3 separate regions of the Homo sapiens genome follow, and all the other regions are linked to region 3. The links are contacts of gene promoters, found by promoter capture Hi-C in blood cells and fetal thymus (Javierre and others, 2016). All regions are on one chromosome and are shown on one strand. The core of a region is centred on a gene start or on the middle of the fragment in contact, and the rest is flanking DNA. Distances in the headings are between cores, read along the strand shown. Region 1 overlaps CMTM2 (CKLF like MARVEL transmembrane domain containing 2). Region 2 overlaps TERB1 (telomere repeat binding bouquet formation protein 1). Region 3 holds the start of CMTM4 (CKLF like MARVEL transmembrane domain containing 4).

Region 1 (2,700 bases), core at 174-2,673, 120 kb before region 3:
CTATGTCTCACTGCAGGGCTGCCTAATAGCTGCAATGATACTGTTGTCCTCACTCACCGTGCACCCCATCTTGAGGCTTATCATCACCATGGAGATATCCTTCTTCAGCTTCTTCATCTTACTGTACAGCTTTGCCATTCATAGATACATACCCTTCATCCTGTGGCCCATTTCTGTAAGTAAGGGGTGATGGGGAGTGCCTGCATCCAGAATGCTGATCAGGTGTGTCTTGGCACCTGGAAAGTCACCAAACAGAGAGACACACCTCACCTCCCATATCTGTGCCTGGGTCAGGGACTCAGAACATCAGTGGGGCCCAGGCAGAGGCAGCTGGGTGCAAGAGGGGTAGCTAGGCAGAAAATGCTCCAAAAAGCCTATCTGTGTGTTGGAGTGAGAGTGGGGAACTCTTACTTACCTGGTGGTCAAAGAGGGCCTGAGCCTTTGTTCTCTTTAGGGGAAGGGGAGGTGTAGCAACCAGCTGTTCCTCCGAACTCCTGTGCCAGCTCACACTTGACAGGAGATCACCCCAGAAGGACCCCATTCCCAAAATTCAAAGAAGAAAATTACTCTCCCATAAGTCAATAAAATAAAACAAAATGGGAATTTTTTTTAAAAATCACTTCTAAAGCAGCGTTAGGTCTCCAGTGAATATCCCTATAAAGGATGTTTGGATCAGAAGGATGTTCAGCCCAAAGCAGTCATCTAGTGGAAAGAGACAGAACTGGGCAAGTTACTAAACCATTCCCAGCCTGTTTCCTCATCTGTAACATGAGACAGTCACATTCCTTGCAGAACTGACATTCAATCCTGAGGATTAAATGTAAATTGCTTGACACCGTGCCTGAGGACTCATGGAATTGAATCCCTGCCCATCACCTGTTTAACCACAGGGCACAACCACCTAACCCCTTGCCAGTCAATGAAGACCCCAATTCCCAAGTCCCTTTGTTCATTGCACATTCACAGCCTGCCTCCAGAGCCCTCTTGTTCACTGTTTCACTCACGTTACACATGAGGAAATTGGCCTAGAATGGCCAAGTAACTTGCCCCCAGGTCACTCAGCTGGTAAGTAGCAGAAAAAAGCTTCAAACTTAGCTTTATGAGTACATTTCATCCTGCCTTCTTGTTAAAAACTATTAGGGTCCAGGGATCCAGAGGTCTTGGTGAAGCAGATGAGGACCTCCGATACAGGGAGAAAGGACAGGAGGGCCAAATAAGGACTCTCAGAAAAGGGACAAGCAGAGGACAAGGTAAAAGGACAGGCAGAGGACAAGTTCCTAAACAAGGAGCCTGAGAAGACATTTTTAGTTCCAGCAAGATGAAAAACCAATGAACCCTGAACATCTTCCCACTGTGCTTACCTAAAAATACCAGGGGAAATGTAACCAGTATTGCTTTAACTGAATGAATGAGCTGGCAAAAAAGAAATGAAAACACACAGGCGCCAGAAATGGCAAACAGGGCAGTGATCACATAAGCTACAAAGTATGAGTGGGAATGGTCCAAGAGGTATTGTCTCAGGAACCTACAGCCTGGATTTTCATGCACTCTCAAGTCAGGAAATAAGGCCTTGATCCTAAGCAAAGTGGGAATTTAGAACTGAAAACCCTGTATAAAGCCAGCGCCCTGGAAAGACTACCTCCTTAGGGAAAAGATGGACAAAGACACATACCCTTCTTATTCCCAACACAGAGGAATAAGAAAACATGTTCATCTCTGCCTGAGCTTTGAGTGGGCGGAGAGGAAGTCTTCCTTGAGAAATAGAAAGCTTAAGCCTGCCCTTTGTACAGATTGGAGTTTGAATTTTTGTTATCTGCAGCCTAGAAACCTTCATGCAGCCCAGAAACCTTCATCCCTGGGAATTACCATAAAAACTGATCCCAGTCTGATGACATTCTGCTGATATCCTTGGACTCCTGATAGAAACAAATGCAAAATCACAATCAAGGCATGAAGAGATTCTCACAGTGGGGGTGGGGGGAAAACCTTGTCAAAAATGAACTAATAATTCAAAACTACTAAACACCTGATTTTAAAAAATCCCCATTACTAAGAATCAACAAACACAACAAATGGATTAGAATCCTGAGAATATGAGATAATAGAAGAGCTGTCTGAAAATAATAATATATTTTAAGGGATTATAGACATAAGAGTCCTGAGAAAAGAGTAAGACACTATGAGGACAAAATAGACAGATTTTTAAAAAGTACAGTGTCTAGAATAGAAAATATAGTTATTGAAATAAAAATGTCAATAGATGAATTCAAAAACAGATCAGACATAGCTGAAGGAGGGAACTGTTAACTGAAAGGTATGGGGAAATTACCCAGAACACAGCACACAGAGAGAGAGAAAATAAGAGATTGAGACAGAACAATGAGTGAGAACATCCATCAGTGGTTGTTGGGCTGGGTGTGGTGGCTCACACCTGTAATCCCAGCACGTTGGGAGGCTGAGGTGGATGGGTCCCTTTGGTCCAGGAGTTTGAGACCAGACTGGACAACATAGGGAGACCCTGTCTCTACAAAAAAATTTAAAAATTAGCCAAGCATGGTGGCACATGCCTGTTGTTCCAGCTACTCAGGAGGCTGAGGTGGGAGGATGGCTTGAACCCAGGAGGTCAAGGCTACAGAGAGCTCTGATGGTGCCACTGCACTCCAATCTGAGTGACAGAGTGAGACCCTGTCTAAAAAATAA
Region 2 (2,700 bases), core at 47-2,546, 69 kb after region 3:
ATAGCCCACGTTAGAAGCCAAAAGTCAAGATACATATTTGAAAACCATCAATAAAATGATAGATGATGCTACAAAAGTAAATGTAGTGAAAGAACTGCGTAGGTGCTATAGACTAGGTCTTGAGGAGAATACTTGTGGCAATCTGGCAGGAAGAGAGAGATAAAGGTGAAGACTGAGTTCTATTCATCTTCGATTCCAGTGCCAGCCAAGGACTAAGCACTCCATAATGTTTGTGGAATGAATGAATGGTAACTAGGGGAGAAAGGAACAAGGAAATAACCATCTCATACAAACTAAGCAATTACAGAACATCCACTTTGCCACCTAGAATACTTTTGACCAGAGATTCCCAAACTTTCTAGGTTCATGGCACCTCTAAGCCAAAAGAAATGCCTAATGATTCTGTCAGATCCAAGACAACTTAATAAGTATTTATGTTCTAACAACTTAGTAGCCATTTGAAAAAATAATACAATTAAACTGAAAGAAATATTTGTACTTTTTTATTCTTATTAAATACATTTACTTTCTTTCTTTCTTTTTTTTTTTTTGGAGACAGAATCTCGCTCTGTCACCAAGGCTGGAGTGCAATGGCATGATCTCAGCTCACTGCAACCTCTGCCTCCCAGGTTCAAGCAATTCTCCTGTCTCAGCCTCCCGAGTAGCTGGGATTACTGGCTCATGCTGCCATGCCCAGCTAATTTTTTGTATTTTAGTAGAGACGGGGTTTCACCGTGTTGACCAGGCTGGTCTTGAACTCCTGAGCTCAGGTAATCCACCCGCCTCGGCCTCCCAAAGTGCTAGGATTACAGACATGAGCCACCACACCCGGCCTAATACATTTACTTTCTAATGGTATATGTGCATCTGCTGGGAGGAGTGGATGAATAATTGAAAGGATAGCAAATCAAACAAACTATTGGGTATTTTTTTTTTTTTTTTTTTTTTTTTTTTTTTTTGAGACGGAGTCTCGCTCTGTCGCCCAGGCCGGACTGCGGACTGCAGTGGCGCAATCTCGGCTCACTGCAAGCTCCGCTTCCCGGGTTCACGCCATTCTCCTGCCTCAGCCTCCCGAGTAGCTGGGACTACAGGCGCCCGCCACCGCGCCCGGCTAATTTTTTGTATTTTTAGTAGAGACGGGGTTTCACCTTGTTAGCCAGGATGGTCTCGATCTCCTGACCTCATGATCCACCCGCCTCGGCCTCCCAAAGTGCTGGGATTACAGGCGTGAGCCACCGCGCCCGGCCGGGTATTTTTTTAAGATGAGGAAAAATGAGCATAGTTCAAGGTGGAACAAAAGGAGTTAATGAATAGAATGGAAGTGAAGAGAAAGATTTTGCAATTAGTATTAAAATGTGGAGAAAAAAAAGATATGAGATTCAGCTTATGGCTGGACATCAGTTTTAGAAGAATAGAGATAACCTCTTCATCCAAGAGGGAAGAACAATGATGTTCTGAGCCGAATATAGAGAACCTCAATTTTGTCCATAGAGCAGAGTACAACAGCAAGATGAAAAAAGAGGAAATACCGGGGTGTGAAGGAGGAGGAGAAGGGATGGAATAAGTATTGTGGAACATTTACAAGAGCCCTGCAGAAAAAACAAATAATGAACATGAAACAGTAGAAACATTTACATATTATAAATATAAAAATAGGTATTTTTAAAACTTAATGCCTATGTTTACAGGATAATCCAGAATGCATACCTAGTAATAACGGCTCTCTGAAAACATTAAAAAATGTTTATTTTACTCAGTAAGGTTAAATTCATAGATGGTATTAAGACAAAAAGATAATAAAGTAATAAAAAGGTACTAACTGTGTTTATTCATACATACAAATATTGGAAGCTCAGCCTGATGCTGATAAAAGGTGTTTTTTTTGTTTTGCTTTGTTTTTAATTATAGAGACAAGGTCTCGCTATGTTGACCATGCTGGTTTTGAACTCCTGGCCTCAAGAAATCCTCCAGCCTTGGCCTTCCAAAGTGTTGAGATTACAGCTGCCTCACCTGGCCCAGATAGAAGATATTAATTTGAATGCTTTGATATTCCACAGTATTATTTCTCCAAAGGGAACAAAGTAAATCATACATGTAGAACTATTATAAATTCTAGTTAATTACAATAAGCGTGGTGGCTCATGTCTGTAACACCAGCACTTTGAGAGGCTGAGGCAGGCAGATCATTTGAGGTCAGGAGTTCAAGATCAGTTTGGCCAACATGGTAAAACCTGCTCTACGAAAAAATACAAAAAAAAAAAAAAAATTAGCCAGGTGTGGTAGTGGGCACCTGTAATCCCAGCTACTTGGGAGGCTGAGGCACAAGAATTACTTGAACCTGGGAGGTGGAGAGTGCAGTGAGCCAAGATCGCGCCACTGCACTCCAGCCTGGGTGACAGAGTAAGACTCTGTATCAAAAAAAAAAAAAAATTCTAGTTAATATCATAAAAGGCTTTGACTGTGAAACAACTGCAATTAAAAAAATACTTACCTGAGCACCTATACGTCAACATTTCGGAACAACTGGGAGTTGCTAGAAAACTGACTACTTCTTTATTTATTATATCTGAACATAATGTAAATGGATCTGAAAAAAATTGCAAAATGAAGGATTTTTGGATTAATGAAAAGAATCAGATATTTTCAGGATTTATTAAATATCAAGCTTTTCATAAACCTTAGCCTAGTACTATGCCTCCA
Region 3 (2,700 bases), core at 54-2,553:
ACAGAGAATGTTGGGGGGACACACGGGTTTTTCTGAATTAGAGCATGCCCACAACAGAGCTAAGCAATTGCCCGCAGAGGCATGTTACAAAACCACAAAGCAGGAACAGAGCTGAGAGGCCCCTGCCCAGAACACCCTGGAAGCTAAAACACAGGACCCTGAGAAATGAGCTCTACTACAGACAAGTCCAACAGAAAGTTCTCTGTTTCTGCTACCTCCAAAACTGGCTGCCCTCCCAGATTTAACTCTGGGTACCAATTGGGCAGTGCCAGCCACCGTGCTGGGCGGTGGATTCCGGGATGCCAAGTCTGTCTTCTTGGTTAGAAGGACACAAACCTCTGCAGTGTAGAGAATTGTGGGCATATCTGGGCTCCTCCACTGCATCAGGGCTACCTGCCTCCATCCAGCAAATACTTACTAAGCGCCTACCATATACGCCTGGCACCCAGCTAGACATCAAGTGGGAACCAAACCACAGTCCCTCGTCTCCGCAGGCAGAAACAGGCACCGTCCGGAGGTTGCGCGGGCCGGGAAAACCTGCCACAGGTTGCTAAGACCAGCTGTACCCAGGAGACAGCAGGATTCCCAGCAGCACCCAGCCCAGTAACGCCACAGACTCCCGGGAGCGAGGGCGGAGCGGACAGGTAGGCCCGAAGGCAGGTGCTCAGGTAGGAGGCGCACACCTGAGGCTGCCGGCCTGGGAAGGGCAGGCTCTGGCCGAAGGCGGGGTCCCCAGAGAAGGCTGCAGAGTGGTCCCGGGACCCCACGAGGGAGAGGGGGCGCGAGGAGCGGGCTCCGGCCTGGGCAAGCGGGTACGCGGCGGAGGCCCCGCAGCGGGGCGGGGAGGGAGGCGTGCGGCTAGGCCGCCCTCGGGCACCTGGGGCCCCGCCCGGCACCTACCACTTGGGCGACCTTGAGGCGGCCGAGCGCGCCGCGCAGGTAGTCGGGGTCGCAGCGCAGGCCGGCCAGCCCGCGGCGCTGGCTCACCGGCTCGGTGGTGGGCTGGTACGGGCTGCTGGCGCCCGAGATCATGGAGGTGCTCGAGGCCTCGCCCTCGAAGCCGTCCAGCTCCTCGCCGCTCCGCATGCTGCCGCCCGGCCCGGGCCGCCTCGCGCGGCTGGCTCCCGGCGCCAGGAGCGGGCGGACTCAGCGGGGCCGCCGCATCGCCGCCGCCGCCGCCGCCGCCGCCGCCCGACTGACTGCCCGCGGCCCGCCCGCCGCCGCCGCCTCTCGCCCGCCGCCCGGCTGCGGCTGCGGCTCGGTCCGCTCGGGCTCGGCTCCCGCCGCCTCGGCAGCGGAAAGGGAGGGAGGTGGGAGCCAGGAGAGGGAAGGAGGCGGGAGCGGGCGCGCCGGGCCGGGAGAGGCGGAGCCAGGCCGCAGCCGGCCGCTCGGAGGCGCTCCGCGGCTCGAGCGAGGTGGAGGCGGCGGCGCCGCGGGCCTCGGGGAGGGGCGGGGCGAGGCGGGGCGCCGGCTCCTCAGGCCCCGCCCTGGCCCCGCCCCCACCTGCGCCTAGAGCCGGGGCGGGAGCCGCTGGTGGGCGCTGGCGATCCCGGCACGCGGGGCGATGGGGTTCAGGCAGCGGGGTCTTGGGGCTGAGGAAAGGGTCGAGGTGGACCTGGAGGCCATGGAGTTGCTTTCCCAGACGCTGCCTCAGGTTCTCCTTTGAAGAAAGTGGGGTCCTCGACGCATAGGGTGGGGAGCTTCTCGGTAAAGACAGAGACGGGCTGCGCCACCCGGGTGCCGGGAACGGTGCGTGGCCAGGGTGGGCTTGACTCAGACTATTGGGCCGACGAGAGGTGGGTAAGTGCCTGTGTTCTCACGCTGGGCGCCTGGAACAAACCGGTTCCGAGGCCAGGGGCGGGCGGGGCAGGGTGAGGAGCCGCCCCACTGCAGGTTGTCCCCGCCGGCCTGACCCAGGCGACTGACATGTTCCTCTCCTCTCAGCTGAAAAGCTTTGCTAGCTCTGTCTACGCATAAAGTAAGGTTAAACACAGATTTTGCCCCGAAGGGCATTAATTAGGGACCAATTTACAATTCAAGTGTGAAGGCTAATTTTAAGCTAAGTAAAACACTGACTAAGAAGTGTCGCTTTGATATTGAACCCTTCCACAACCACAAATACCGAGAGCTTGCCATGTTCTAGGCACTGAGCAAGGCGCTTGAAGAACGTATCGTTGTTATTTCTATTTTACAGAAGAAGAGACTAAGGCTGCAGACTGGAAGTAGCTTGTCCAAGGTCACACAGTTCATTGGTGGGCAGAGCCCAGGTTCCTACTTTTTCTTTTTTTAAAAAAAAGTTATTTATTATTTTCATCATCATTATTTTTGTAGAGATAGGGCCTCACTGTGTTGCCCAGGCTGATCTCGAACTCCCGGGCTCAGGGGATCCTCCTGCCTCAGCCTCCCAAATTGCTGGGATTACAGGTGTGACTGACCATGCCCAGCCCTCAACTTTTTCAAAGATAGGAAGGACAGTGACTCTAATACTGTTGTCCTTCTGTATGGGGGCAAGAGAGGGAGCTTGTTTTCAGGACCCCCTCAAATACCAAAATCTGAAGATGCTCTCAAATCCTTTATATAAAATGGTGTAGTATTTACATATAACCTACACACATCTTCTCGTATACTTTAAATAATTGTTCTACTGTATTACTTTTTATCTATATTTTTGTGTGTGCGTGTGTGTGTTGTTTGGGGGTT

The links. Contacts are between HindIII fragments. The CHiCAGO score rates a contact against its expected background, and 5 or more counts as called.
Region 1: a contact is called between a fragment that was not itself captured here and the fragment with the promoter of CMTM4 in region 3, in 5 of 17 cell types (naive CD8 T cells, activated CD4 T cells, non-activated CD4 T cells and 2 more). The highest score is 6.4, in naive CD8 T cells.
Region 2: a fragment that was not itself captured here is called in contact with the fragment with the promoter of CMTM4 in region 3 in 1 of 17 cell types (naive B cells); the score reaches 5.0 in naive B cells.

What each region holds. Positions count from the first base shown.
Region 1 is chr16:66,580,010-66,582,709 of GRCh38, forward strand. CMTM2 (CKLF like MARVEL transmembrane domain containing 2) reads left to right here. Exons shown (of 4, transcript NM_144673.3): 2 at 17-175. Among named protein-coding and RNA genes, the nearest start is that of CMTM2, 1.9 kb to the left of the region's middle. The HindIII fragment of the contact is 685 bases long and covers 1,082-1,766 here.
Region 2 is chr16:66,764,924-66,767,623 of GRCh38, forward strand. TERB1 (telomere repeat binding bouquet formation protein 1) reads right to left here. Exons shown (of 19, transcript NM_001136505.2): 16 at 2,492-2,587. Among named protein-coding and RNA genes, the nearest start is that of DYNC1LI2-DT, 15 kb to the left of the region's middle. The HindIII fragment of the contact is 2,733 bases long and covers 1-2,663 here.
Region 3 is chr16:66,695,440-66,698,139 of GRCh38, forward strand. It overlaps CMTM4 (CKLF like MARVEL transmembrane domain containing 4), which reads right to left and starts at 1,304. Exons shown (of 4, transcript NM_181521.3): 1 at 901-1,304. The coding sequence starts at 1,086. RefSeq lists an enhancer at 507-1,346 and silencers at 817-1,106, 1,197-1,536, 1,777-1,836, 1,867-1,946. The HindIII fragment of the contact is 10,204 bases long and covers 1-1,950 here.